Linked DNA regions of Homo sapiens: regions 2 and 3 are each linked to region 1. Evidence: promoter capture Hi-C in human tissues and cell types (Jung and others, 2019). All regions are on one chromosome and are shown on one strand. Each heading gives the region's core, a stretch centred on a gene start or on the middle of the fragment in contact. The rest is flanking DNA. Distances are from core to core; before and after follow the strand shown.

Evidence for each region. The method cuts DNA at HindIII sites, captures the fragments that hold promoters and counts their contacts. A contact is called where the count stands out against the background at its distance.
Region 2: a contact is called between the fragment with the promoter of ZNF154 here and the fragment with the promoter of ZNF471 in region 1, in 1 of the 25 tissues and cell types used here (stomach).
Region 3: a contact is called between the fragment with the promoter of ZNF134 here and the fragment with the promoter of ZNF471 in region 1, in 1 of the 25 tissues and cell types used here (pancreas).

What each region holds. Positions count from the first base shown.
Region 1 is chr19:56,505,579-56,510,243 of GRCh38, forward strand. It overlaps ZNF471 (zinc finger protein 471), which reads left to right and starts at 2,277. Exons shown (of 5, transcript NM_020813.4): 1 at 2,277-2,342. The HindIII fragment of the contact is 4,462 bases long and covers 785-4,665 here.
Region 2 is chr19:57,706,417-57,711,081 of GRCh38, forward strand. ZNF154 (zinc finger protein 154) reads right to left here and starts at 2,788. Exons shown (of 3, transcript NM_001085384.3): 1 at 2,523-2,788. The coding sequence starts at 2,555. RefSeq lists enhancers at 2,376-3,015, 2,759-2,888, 2,909-2,968. The HindIII fragment of the contact is 14,166 bases long and covers 1-4,665 here.
Region 3 is chr19:57,611,663-57,616,327 of GRCh38, forward strand. ZNF134 (zinc finger protein 134) reads left to right here and starts at 2,580. Exons shown (of 3, transcript NM_003435.5): 1 at 2,580-2,841. It also overlaps a transcript of ZNF530 not described here. RefSeq lists an enhancer at 2,475-2,654 and a silencer at 2,785-2,834. The HindIII fragment of the contact is 8,655 bases long and covers 1-4,665 here.

The DNA of each region.
Region 1 (4,665 bases), core at 1,027-3,526:
TATGATAATGGAAATACCCCTTACTTCCTTGGTGGGATGAATGAGGACAGAAGAATCAAAATAATCTCTTGTTATTGGTTGAATTTTGTCTGCCCCAAATTTTGCATGTTGAAGTCCTAACTCCCAGTACCTCAGAATGTGACTGTATTTGGATATAGGATTTTTACAGAGTTAATTAAGTTGAAATGAGGTCGTTAGGGTGGGTCCTAATGCAATCTGACTAGTCTCACCATGTCTCCATGGGTTTTCTCTGGGTACTCCAGATTCCTCCCACATCCCAAAGATGTGCACAGTAAGTTAACTGGTATGTCTAAGTTGTCCCAGTCTGAGTGAGTGTGGGTGTGTAGTAGGCTACACAATCTAGGTTTGTGTAAGTACACTCTATGATGTTTGCACAACAAGGTTCTTAGGAAATTGCCTAAGAACCCATTTCTCAGAATGTATCTCCATCCTTTAGCGATGTAGACTGTATTTCCATACTGTAAATAGTCCCCTTGTGGTGGATTTCAATCTACCAATATGACATCACTGAATGTGGAGTTAGAAAGAAAGGTACAGTTCATGGCTCTCAGTTCCTACAGCTCTTTTAATTTCCTAAATGACTGCAGCAATAAAGTATCTTTTGTTAAAATATCTGGCCTTTTGTTCCTGGTTCCTGAAAAAGCTCCAGAACAGCTCCAGAGCCATAAAGGTGAAAGACAGTATTTCAACCACACATGAGTTTATGTTAATGAGGTGATTTTTGGAAACTCTCAAGATAATCCCAATATTTGGGGGGAGTGGTGGCTAGTTGCCAGAGGAACCAGCCATGTGCTCAGAGGACTGGAACTCACAGCTCCACCCTCTACTTCTGGGAAAAGAGAGAGCCTGAAAATTAAGTTGATCGCCAGTGGCCAATGATTTAATCAATCACATCTACATAATGAAACCTTGAAAACCGAAAAGGCCTGAGTTCAAGCGGCTTCCAAGAAGGTAGACAAAAACACATCCTCGTGCTGGGAGGGTGGTGCACCCCAACTCCACGGGCACAGAAGTTCCTGCACTAGGGATTCTCTCGGACCTTGCCCTACATGTCTCTTCATCTGGCTATTTGTATCCTTTAAAATATCTTTTATAATAAACCAGTAAACATAAGTGTTTCCTTGAGTTCTGTGAGCTGCTCTAGCAAACTAATGGAACCCAAGGAGCCGGCTGTGGGAGCCCCAATTTATAGCACATCTCTCTGAAACACAGGTACAACAATCTGGAGTTTGGAATTGGCATGGGAAGTGGGGGACAGTCTTTTGGGACTGAGCTGTCTAACCTGTAGGATCTGATGTTTTCCAGGTAGCGTCAGAATTGAATTGGAGTAGCGGTCACCTGGCTGGTGTCTGCTGCAGACAGGTTTTTTTGACATGTTAAGACATTATAAGAGACAATAGAAAAAATGTATACGATACAACCTTCTCTGAGTTATATTTCTCCATAGCCCTTTTTACTGTTCATCAGACTGTTTATCTAACTCATGAATTTGTGGCTTGTCTCTCTCCGCTTCAAAGTAAATTACATAATAAGAGGACAGGGATTTTTTTTTCTCTGCTGTATCCCCCTGAATTGCTTTTCCTTATTTGTCTCACCTTCCAATACTAATTCTACAGTTCTCCTAGTCAGGGCTAGTCCCCTAAAACGGGGACCATTTCCATTTTGTTAAGGGGCTGAACGCGGTTCAAGCCTAGCAGATTGGTTCCAAAAACGTCGTGTTATTCACTGCCTCTGATCAGTGACATTCCCATTTGCAGCTGAAAGAGGTATTAATTCGCCAGAGTCACAACACGGTCGGGGTTCCTCGTCGCTGTCTTATTCCAAAATAAGCTTAACACAGAAAGATAATGACACTCCCACGGACTGGCACAGAAGGCCGCGCTCCGAATGACATCGCGATCACAGAGGCACAGACAGCGTCACAAAGCCCCACGCGTACTCACACCGAAGGCTCAGCCGTCGCGCGTTTCCCTCCCAGGCCCCAGGAACTAGTAACTAGGGACGCTTCTGGTCTCTAGGCGAGGAGAGGGGGAGAGCGCAATCTTTGCGCCTGCGCACACTCCTGCTCTTACCCGCCGGAACCCTGGGCCACGCCCGGCTCGCGTAATCACGCACTGCGCAGGCACCGCCCGCTCTGCTCTAAGGTCCCTCTCACTCCTTCAGCAGCCCGAGGACAATCCCCTCAACACTAGGCCACGCCTTGTCTCCGCCCCTCTCGTCCGACCCCTGGAGAGAGGCTGGCGCCTGCGCGATGGGGGGTTCCAGCGTCGACTCACGGAGTCCTTCGGATGAGAGCGTCTGGGTGCCAGACGAGGCCGGGGGTTTGTTTTGGGTGGTTTGGGAGTCCGAGCTCGAGGGCTGGGCCAGGAAGGGCAGGCGAGGCGGGCGGCTCCGACGCGGGTCGCGAAGGCCCAGCCGCGTCCTCTGTCCCCAGGACGACTACATTTCCCAGAGGCCAGCGGGGCGCGCGTACTCGAGTCTGCGGGGCGGAGGCCGCGGCTCGGGGCTGCTGGGCGTTCGGGGCGGCTTGGGGCGGCGGGACCACTGGAGTGAGCTGTGGGAGAGATGGGGGTGTGCCTGTGTGTAAAAGATCTGTCAGAGTGTGAGGCTCCGTGAGAGGGTGTGGTTTCTGTGTGTGTGTGTGTGTGTGTGTGACAGACCGAGAGTCCAGTGTGAGACCAGGGTATGTTCGTGTGTGACAGAGCGAGACGGGCCAGTGTGAGAGACCAGTGAGTGTGAGAGAGATAGGGATGTGCCTGCATTTGAAAGAGAGCGTGTGAAGCTCAGTGAGAGGTTGCGAGGTGTGTGGGTGTGTAAGTGTGTAACAGACCAGGTGTCCAGAGCGTGAGACCAGGATGTATTCGTGTGAGAGAGTGAGACGGGCTGGATGGAGTGTGAGAGACCAGTGAGTGTGAGAGATGGGCGTGTGCCTGTGTGTGAAAGGCCGGTCGGTCGGTGGGTGAGGCTCAATGAGAGGCCGGTGTGTGTTCGAGAGAGAGAAGAATCACCATGTATGCGAGACTAGACTGTGCAAGAACAGAGTGTGAGACTGTGGTATGTTAATGTGTGAAAGGGAGACCAGTGAGTGTGAGAAATGGGTGTTTTGGGTGAAAGACCCGTCAGTGTGTGAGGCCGTGTTATGTGTGTCTGACAGACTGAGAGAGACCAGAGTGTGAGACCAGGGTGTGTTCGTGTGTGAGAGACAACATAGCGTGAGACCAGTGAGTGTGAGAGAGATGAGCACGTGGCTGTGTGTGAAAGACCAGTCATTATGTGAGGCTCCTTGAGAGGCTGGTGTGTGTGTATGAGAGAGAGAAAGAGACTAAACTGTGAGAGTCCAAAGAGTGAGACTAGGTTATGTTGTTATGAGTTTGTGAGAGAGAGGGAGGCGATCAAAGTATAGGACAAAGTTATGTTTCCTGGCTTACGACTTCTAAGATCCTTGGAATCTCCAAAGTATTAAGTGTCTTTTTGCATGCTAATGATTGGTGGGCTGGCAGCCTGTAGGTTGATCACGGTAAGGGATGGTCACAAGAACAATCTAGGCAGGATTAGAGGGTTGGGATTACCTGCCCCATCCCTCAATCTCCAGGGAAAGGAAAGGGAGCCACAGGTTAAACTGATCATCAGTGGTCAGTGATTTAACCAGTCATGCCTACATTATGAAGCTTCCATAAAAACCCAAAAGGACTGGGTTCATCAAACTTCCAGATAGCTGAACACTGGAGGTTCCTGTAGGATGAGCCCCTTCCTATATAACCTTGTCCTATGCATTTCTTCACCTGCATCCTTTGTAATATCCTTTATTACTACAAACGTGTTTCCCTAAGTTCTGTGAGCTGCCCTAGCAAATTAATTGAACGCAAGGAGGGGGTCATAGGAACCCCGATTTATAGCTAGTCAGAAGCACAAGTAAAACAACCTGGGGTTTGCAACTGGCATTGGAAGTGGGGAGCAATTTTGTAGGGCTGAGCCCTCAACCTGTGGGATCTTATGCTGTCTCCAGGTAGATAGTGTCAGAATTGGGTTGCCCTAGAGGTCACCCACCTGGTATTCACTGGGTTGCCCTAGAGGTCACCCACCTGGTATTCACTGAAGAACTTATTGCTTGCCTGGTGTGTGTGTGTGTGTGTGTGTGTGTGTGTGTGTGTGTGTAGATCCCCACACATCTGGTCTTAGAACTGTTTTGTGTTGTGTGAGTGGAGTAGGAGAAACAGTTTGTTTTTCCTCTTTGTCACCTGAGTGTGTTATCAGGGACTGGATTGTGAGAATCCAGAGTGTGAGACCAGGGTATATCAATGTGTGAGAGAAATAGATGTGCCTGTGTGAAAGATGAACAAGTATGAGGCTCCCTGGAGTCTGAGAAAGATCATGTGTGTGTCTGAGTAAAAGCAAGAGACTAGACTGAGAGTTCAGTGATTGGGAGAGACTGGGGTATGTTGGTGTGAGTGTGTGAGAGACCAATGGGTATGTGAGAGACTAGAGTATGTCTCTGTCTGGACTGGTAGGTTGTGAGAGGGTGTATCACAGTATGAAAAAGATTGGAGTGAGAGTGACCAGTATGTATTTTGTGTGCATGAGATAAAGCAGTTGGAATATGAGAGATCAGAGTGTGTTTGTGTATCTGTGTGAGACACTGGAGCA
Region 2 (4,665 bases), core at 1,538-4,037, 1.2 Mb after region 1:
CCACTGATCACCTACCCCAGGCCAAGTGACTGTCACAGATGACCACATTGGCACCTGGCCTTATCCTCCAGGTTGAATAAACACCCTAGGCCCCATCAAAGTCATCAAAAAATCCTGGTGATTCCACAGAGTGCTGAATAAGCACAAAGGAAAAAAAGGACAGCCATTTGCCTCAAATACACCTATGCCTCTGCATCCACCTTATATCCACTCTTCCCTTGAAAGTGTATGCCACCTGCCCAACTATCCTCTCCAAACACCCTACCTCCATAGCCACTAACCTCCCTTACCTCTGTTTAGAAAGCCCAAGAATATCACCCACTTATCCAACCAAAAGGCTTGGTCCTTAGCCCCCATTCTGCCCTTCCTGGCCAAATAACCTGTACCACCATGCCTAAAGATTAACCCTTGTAGGCCGGATGCGGTGGCTTACGCCTGTAATCCCAGAACTCTGGGTGGCTGAGGCGGGTGGATCACCTGAGGTTGGGAGTTCAAGACTAGCCTGACCAACATGGAGAAACCCTGTCTCTACTAAATAAATACAAAATTAGCCGGGCGTGGTGGCGCATGCCTGTAATCCCAGCTACTCGGGAGGCTGAGGCAGGAGAATTGCTTGAAGCCGGGAGGCGGAGGTTGTGGTGAGCCAAGCTCGCGCCATTGCACTCTGGCCTGGGCAACAAGAGAGACACTCCATCTCAAAAAAAAAAAAAAAAAATAGAACAACCCTTCTAAATGTAATCCACAGCTCACTCACCTTAGTCCACACAATGACCACCACATTTTGGATGTCTCCATTCTGAAGCACTCCCCAGATTTCCAGACCTGGGTGTTCAGCCACCTACTTAATGCCTACTTAATGTCTCTGAAACATCTCAAACTCTTACATGACCAAATAAAGCTCCTGTTGTCTCCAGTGAATATTACTGTTAATACCAACTTCTCCATCTCAGTTGAAGAACCATGGGGTCATCGCTGAATCCTGTTTCACTCCCTCGCTGTCTACATCAGAAAATTTAGTTGCTCCCTTTAAAAATTTGCATCCAGAATGCAACACATCTCCTAATCAATGACTCTGGTCCATTACCCTGGACTGGCTGTAGCTTCCACTCTGATCTTCTTTCCTCTTCCCTCAACCCCACAGTCTGCTCTCCACGCTAACGGGATGGACCCTGTTAGGACTTTGGTAAGATCACCTCCCTCTTGTAACCCAAATCTCTCATTACCTCCAGAATAGGTACCCAACTTCTCAGGCAGCCACTGCAGTCCTGACTCCTTCCCCCTGCTCTTTGTTCCCAGCTAAAAGGAAACAGATCTATGGTTTCCTCAAAAATCTCAGCTTAGTTTTACTAAGCACTTGCGCCTCCTGATACCAGTGCCAGAGATAACCTTTCACAAGTTTCCACTGGCTGACAAAAATGGGAACACCTCAGTATAACCCCTGTAACCTCTGGCATGGACTTAAGAGCCCTGGGCTTGGAATTTCTCCAGGGCACCAGACCCAGGATTGGGGTAACAGCACTTAAGAATACTAGGAAACCACAATCCCAAGAACATGGGGGTAGAGGCTACTGAGGGACCGAACACTCTCCACTTCCCTATGTGAGTTCCATACGCCCTTCTACAACTGGGAGAACCAGGGAAAGAGGAATGCATCCCTGGTGAGGCTAGATGAGCTCAAGCCTCCCTGTAGCCCTGCCTGGCCCTGAACTCAGGCTGGCTGTTTTACTTTCTGGTCTCAGTGCTGTCACCTCTTGCCAACTGTAGGGCAATGAAAAAAAGATGTAGCCTCCCACTATCTCAATGTCCTCATCGCCCCATCGCTGCTCTTCCTGTGAACAGTCTTTGGAAAAGTTTTTAAACCCTAACATAGGGCGGGCACGGTGGCTCACGCCTGTAATCCCAGCACTTTGGGAGGCCGAGGCAGGAGGATCACTTGTCAGGAGTTCCAGACCAGTCTGGCCAAAATGGTGAAATCCCGTCTCTACTAAAAATACAAAAAATTAGCCGGACGTTGTAATCCCAGCTGCAGGCTTGTAATCCCAGCTGCTGGGGAGGCTGAGGCAGGAGAATCGCTTGAACCCGGGAGTCGGAGGTTGCAGTGACCCGAGATCGCGTCATTGCACTCCAGCCTGGGCGATAAGAGCGAAACTCCGTCTCAAAGAAAAAAAAACTAACATAAATGGCGTCCCTCCTTTGTTCAGAACTCTCCGTGGCTTCTAGCATCCTCACAATGACAGTACAACCCTAGGAGTAACTCCGCCTCATATTCTTCGTTCCCTGCAGAAAACAGCTTTCCGAATTCTCCTGGCTCAGTCGCGCCTCAACCTTTGCACGCGCCGGTTCCTCCGCCTGTCACGCTCTCCCACACCTCGTCACACGCAGTGTCAAAAAAAGGGCCCCACCCACGAACGCCTCAGTGTCCCCGACCCTGGGCAGCGGGGACTCGAGCAGGCGCCCCTCACTGATGGCTTTAGAACGTGGGTGGGGGAAGGTGTGTGAGGACGGGAAGACGCCGCACTCACCTGAGTTGGCGTCCTCAGAGTGGCCGCTGCCATCAGACTCTGCGGGTAGAGCTGGGCCGGGAGCGACGGGCGACATTGGTAGGGACCCGGGGACAGCGGTCCCTATCCCAGGCCTGACGTGGGTCCCCCAGGGCGGCGTCGCCAAGGCTTAGACGCTTTCGTGCAGGAGGGACGACGACTCCCCTCACGCCTTCGTGGCCCCAACTCGGCGCTCTGCTATCTCTGATCCGGTGAACACACCTCAGAGAAGCTAAAATGGCCGCCACGAAGAGGCCCCCCCAAAAGTCCCGTCCTTTCTTTTTGTGACTCTCAAGGAAAGTCGGTTTTCTGAGCTCTTACTGGCTTAGTAGCGTGGCGTTCAACGCAGAGCATTCTAGGTAATGTAGTTTTCATAGATCCCGAGGTGGGTGCCGGGGACCCTTTGCACCAACCTCTTGGAGTAAAAGCGAAGCTCCAGGGCGCTGGGCGATGAGAAATGGCTTATCCAAGTCCTAGGGCAGTGGAGGGACTTCGCCCTTTCTTAAATGGGTCGTAATCAGACAGCATATTAGAGGTGCCATCTGCAACTGATCACCCAAGTGTTTGGGGAATATTATTTCAAACTTCATAAAGTTCAGCAGGCTCCCAGAGGCTAAAATTATTATCAGACGCTCCCTAAGGCTGCCAATCCAAATATGTACATCATTCCATAGAGCCATTCAGACACGAAATATATCCACTAGTAGGGAAGCTAATAAACATTACCATATAAGTTTATTCCTTTTTTTTTTTTTTTAAGACAAAGTTTCCCTCTGTCCCCCAGGCTGGAGTGCAGCGGCGCCATCTGGGATCACTGCAACCTCCGCCTCCCGGGTTAATCGATTCTCGTGCCTCAACCTTCCAAGTAGCTGGGACTATAGGCGCGCGCCACCACGCCAGGCTAATTTTTTGTATTTTCAGTAGAGACAGGGTTTCACTATGGTGGTCCCAAATTCCTGGCCCCAGGTGATCTGCCCGCCTCGGCCTCTCAAAGTGCTGGGATTACAGGCGTAAGCCACCGTACCCAGCCTCTATCATATTACATTTCAAATGTATGCACTCCGAAGCATTGAAGTCAGTCTGTGCACTTTTGGTCAGGGACAGGTGAAAAACTACTTCAGATAGTGGCATGATAGTGCTTCTAGAAGATAGAAGAGAAATGTTAGATCACCTTGAAACAGTAGTACAAAGGTAGAATTCTGTCTGATTCCAACAGAAAACATCTTTTGCCTGCATAGTCAATTATTGTGTCCAATTACTGTGTCCAGTCAATAACTGTGTCCAATTCACTGAGCAACGCTTTTATCCATTTCATAATTCTTACTTGATATCTGAGATATATTCCTTCTAGAAGTCTAACATCAATCTCAAAAAACAATGAAAGAAATGCTACTTTGATAAGAGACAAAGGGGAGAGGTGGGACTTCTTAATCAGAAAGCCGGTGAAATGCACTTGAAGGAAGTGAGAAATGAGCCATGTGGGTATTTTTAGAATAAATTCCAGGCAGAAGAAGCAGGTTACTAGAGTGCCTGGATGGATGGAGACTTCACAGGGCATTTCAGCATTGGAGGGCCTAGGGCTCCAACCCAGCAGGCCTTCATCTGCTTTGCTGGCTGCAGAGACACTCAGGGTATATAGGTGAGAAATCTCTTCTTTTTTTTTTTTCTTTTTTTTTGAGATGGAGTTTCACTCTTATTGCCCAGGCTGGAGTGCAATGACGCAGTCTTGTTTCACTGCAACCTCTCCACCTCCTGGGTTCAAGCGATTATCTTGCCTCAGCCTCCCAAGTAGCTGGGACTACAGGCGCACGCCATGACACCCAGCTAATTTTTGTATTTTTAGAAGAGACGGGGTTTCACCATGTTGGCCAGGCTGGTCTCGAACCACTGACCTCAGGTGATCCACGCATCTCGGCTTCCCAAAGTGCTGGGATTACAGGCATGAGCCACCGAGCCTGGCCGAGAAATCTCTGCTGCTTTGTTATAAAGTTTTGGAGCCGCAAAATAAATAGCACTCGAATATAAAATTTTCTTTTTAATTCTCAGCAAGGTAATGTACTTTTTTTTTTTTTTTTTTTTTTGAGATGGAATCTTGCTCTGTCACCCAGGTTGGAGTGCAGTGGCG
Region 3 (4,665 bases), core at 1,330-3,829, 1.1 Mb after region 1:
GGAAAACTCTTTTCCCTCCTGGTACCAATCATGGCCACTTATCATCTCAGAGGGATAGTTTTATGCTTTCCTGTCCTTCACCCAATGAGAGCTGGACATCTCGGGGGTCCCTCTCTTGTTTTGTTTATTATCTCAGAGGAAAAGATTTATGATTGCCTGTCCTTGACTCCAAAATTGCCTGACATTCCTGGGGTCCCTCTCTCCTGCCCTACTCTTATCTACCTACTCTAACACCAGGGTGAGGGTATGAGGCAACTAGAGACCACCCCTGTAAATCGAAGCCAACCAGAATTATTCAGACTAGCCAGTACTCAGCTGTTTGCTCTGATCTGGCCTAGGCTTTCCCCTAGCTCTTGCTTCTTCCTTTAGACTGAAACCTGTTCCTCCTGTGGCCCTGCATGGCATACTGTACTTCCCATTTCTAGGGAAATTCTGAGTAACATTAAACTTTTATTTCACTGGCATTGAGCTCTCCATGTCCTTTTCCAATAAAGACCCATCCACAAATTGGCCTCTCTTGGCTATGTAATATTACATATCTTTCCAGCACTTCTCAATGCCTTCACCTTCTCTTTTCTCCATTATGCCTGCCACATTCTAACATTCCATATAATTTAGCATTTTTTTCATATTTCCTCCTCTTTCTTGAGTACAGCGTAAGCTATTGGGGTCTGTCTCTTGTTTTGTAAATGTCCCATGCAGTTAAGATAGTGTCTGAAATACAGTAGGTGTTCCTTGAATATTTCTTAGAACTATGAATAAGCATAATACTACAGCATCCCTGTTCACCTTAATATTCTGATAGCACTTTCTAAATGTTTTCTTTACTTCTCCTTCCAGGTATTATTGAGTGTTTTCAAGAATGAAAAGAGGCCTGGCATGGTGGCTCACATCTGTAATCCCAACTTTTTGGGAGGCTGAGGTGGGAGGATCCCTTGAGCCCAAGAGTTTGAGGCTGCAGCAAGCTATGATCGTGCCACTACACTCCAGCCTGTGCAACACAGTGAGATCCTGTCTCCAAAATTAAATAAATAAATAAAATTACATTTTGGAGACTAAACGCTGCTTGTAGTCATAGTTCTAACACAGCTGTGTGCTCAGCTTCATTTGCTCACTTCTCAGAATTCAATGTCTCCTGCTCAAATTTTGCTGTCATCTTAACCGTTTTCACTTATCACAGATATGTTTCTCCAGGTCCATTTCGTCATGTATCTGTGAATAACTACAGAATTATTAACTTTGAGTAATTTGGCCGGGCGCGGGGGCTCTCCTGTAATCCCAGCACTTTGGGAGGCTGAGGCGGGCAGATCACGAGGTCAGGAGATCGAGACCATCCTGGCTAACACGGTGAAACCCCATCTCTACTAAAAATACAAAAAGTTAGCCGGGCATGGTGGCAGGCGCCTGTAATCCCAGCTACTCCGGAGGCTGAGGCAGGAGAATAGTGTGAACCTGGGAGGCGGAGCCTGCAGTGAGCTATGGTCGCACCACTGCACTCCAGCCTGGGCGACTGAGCAAGACTCCGTCTCAAAAAAAAAAAACACAAAACAACTTTTGAGTAATTTAAACAATTCACAAATGTTTTTGTCTTTCTTTCCCCATACACTCGCCCTTTTCTTTTTTAAAACCATAAATAAATCTCAATTCTCAATTCAGACACTGTCGGTGTAATTGCAGGTGAAATGAGAATCACCTCCCAGCCAAGAAATCTGATCCCAATTTTCCAAATCTTTATTTCTGGGTTCAGACACCACATTTTCAGCCCCTGTCTTGGCATATAAAAGCATTTATAATGGTTCTTCTTTTCAGATAAGAAACATCACCAAAAGGAAATAGATATATCTCAACTTTTGGGCTAGGAACTCTCATTTGGATAAAAGAATATTTCTCCTTTGGTTGGACATTAGTGACCATACAGGCAGGAAAGGTGCCTTCCTTGACCACCTTCTCTCGCCTGTCTTCCTCCTCATGGTTCTCTCAGGTATTTTTTTTCTGAGGAAACCAGAGGAAGAGCTCTATATTAGTCCACTTGCCTCAGGGAGCTCCAGCATCCCTCCATAGCCACTGTCTGGAGACCATTCTTCCACTCCATGGCCCTGCCTGGGGACAATTCTCTGTTAACTCTGACCCAACTGAGGCTCACAAAACTGACTCAAAGCTTCCCTCTACAGTACACATATTTTTTAAATGAAGGAAATTTGACTGAACTATGAGTGGACTCAGAGTGACATTGGATGTTGTGTGTCCATTTGGTGGTGTGGCTTCAGGGAACATCTGTAAGAATATATCCCAATATTTCGGGGATCCCTGCAGACCTCACTACACAAGACCTGGTTGAGGGTCCTTTAAAAGGAGCGAAGCCACGCCCTGACCTCAGAGTCTCAGGGCATAATTTCTCAGCGCCCCTCGCAGTACCATTTGGCCTTTGCCCAGCGTGCAGGGGAGTTAGCCGTCACCACGGCCAAGTGCACATGAGAACTGCATTGCCCAGAAACCTGTGCGCCGCCCGGCGGCGGCACTCTTAGGGGCGTCTCCCTGCGGACGGAAGCTCTCTGGGCGGGACTTCCGGTATCTTCCTCGCGGTGGACATCTTGTCGGCTCTTAGGTGGAACCATCGGAGCAGAAGCTCGGGGTTGCTGGGCGGTTCCGAGGTGACGGAAGCGGGAGGGTGCGGGAGAAGTCGCTGTTCGCTCTGCGGAGTGGCTCGCCAGCGAAGACCCCGCCTGCGCCCCCGGGGACGGACGACCGCGGTGCCAGGGTCCCGCGACCTGGGACCCCCTCGCGGCTCCGGGTGGTCTACGAACTGTGATGGCGGCGGCCGCGGTGATGGGCCCGGCGCAGGTGGGTGCTGCCTTTCCCAGACTTTCGCCCGCCCCAAATCCTGAAGTTCCAAATGAGGAGCGCCTGTCTGAGTCCCTGCAGCGCAGGCCCCAGTGTCCAAGGCAGCGGGGCGCTGGTGGGTGGGGGCGAGTGTGACTGGCAGAGGGGCAGCCTGAGCATAGGTTTGGAGCTGGACTGAGCCCGTAGCAGTCGGGAGCGTGTGTGAACCGTAGTCAGGCCTGCAATGTCGAGGGGAGAAGTTGCTCCTTCATTGCGAGGACGATAGGAGCCATGGCGGGTTTTGAATGGTGGAGGGAAGGGATCCGAAAAAGGATTTTTAAAGTATTCCAATGTTTGCTGAGGAGGAAACCGACTACAGTGAGGTAGAAACGATGAGGATGGAGGCAAGGAGACGTTTGAGGAGGTCCCTGCAACAAACTCCAGAAGTGTTGCGGTGGTGGCTGGGCCAGAGCAGTGGCAGGAGGGGTTGGGTGGGGAAGTCATGAGATTCTGGGTAGATTTTTAAAGATGGAACCAATGGGGTTTCCTGCCGCATCAGATGTGGTCGTGAGTGAATGTAGGGAGGAAAGGGCTATCCAGGGTTTTTTTGGCCTGTTTTCCTTCCTGAACGTGTGAAAGAATGGAAATTGGTAAGTCACAGCAGGGAGCACGTTTCAGGGGCATCAGGAATTGGGTTTTGGACTTGGTGAATCTAAGGTGTTCTGCACTGGAGGTTCATCACGGGTAGCTGAACATGCAGGTCTGGGGTTCTAGAGAGGGAGTTGTGCTAGAGACTTCAATGGGTGAGGCATAAGGTCAAAGCCTGTAGTAGATCAGATTTAGAGGGTGGAATTTCAAGGAAGTTATTTTGTGTGGTCTCTGAAGTGAGAGGTGGGTTTAGGGTGGAAGGCCAGGGATGAAGGGGTGGACACTTAAGATTCCTTCCAGAAAGGAGGGGTCCTGGCATGTGAAAGCATTCTAGATGGTGTTGTTGGAAGTCAATGCTTGGTGCTGCAAAGTGAAACCAGCACTCAGGCAAAAGTTTTCTCAGCAAGGCAATTTACTTCTGTGCAAGTGTGCTGCCTGTGTTAATCACGATCCCAAGAGCACACTGAACAAAGGAGGGAAGGGGTTTTTATCTCTAACCCATAGTCCCTACCTTCCTCTGTGTCACTCCCCCATGGGCTGGGGTCGGACCGCTTAATCTAAGCTGAGCCAATTGGGTATTTGTGAGTATTTTCCAAATAAGGAAGAGGGAAGGGGAAGGTGAGTTACAGTGGTGGGACATGTGAGTTGTGTAGGACGTGTGGTTTTGGCGGGGGCAATGGGTGCAAAGTGAGTAAGGGAACAGATGTGAATTATTGGTTAGTGCTTACAGGAAGGTTGTTTATAGTAACTAGGGGCAAGGAGGCATGGAGAACAAGAAAGGTTTGAGAACAAAGAACAAGGAAGTTAACAGGCTAAACCTTTGAAGAGGAATTTTATTATATCTTATAGTGTCAGCAAGAGGAGAGGGCTGTAGAGCATAAGTAGCCTGGCCTGCACTGGAGACCAAGGTGAGGGATGCAGTAGGTTTGCCACCCTACAGGCTCAGCATGCCTTCATGGGCGCTGCCTGTGGAGCAGTCCCATCCCCAACCAGTGCATTGGTGCCTCAGTTACCCAAACCCTCAGGTAAGCAGAATTGATGAACATCTCTAATGAAGGATCACTGCAGCTCCCCTTCAGAGGAATATGTATCAGGTAGGCTGGTTTAGTGCAAGGGCTAGTGTACACCTTGCAAGTACGCAGAAGGAACTAAAAAATGTATGTACAAAGTAAGGGAAATTTATACTAGCACTTAATG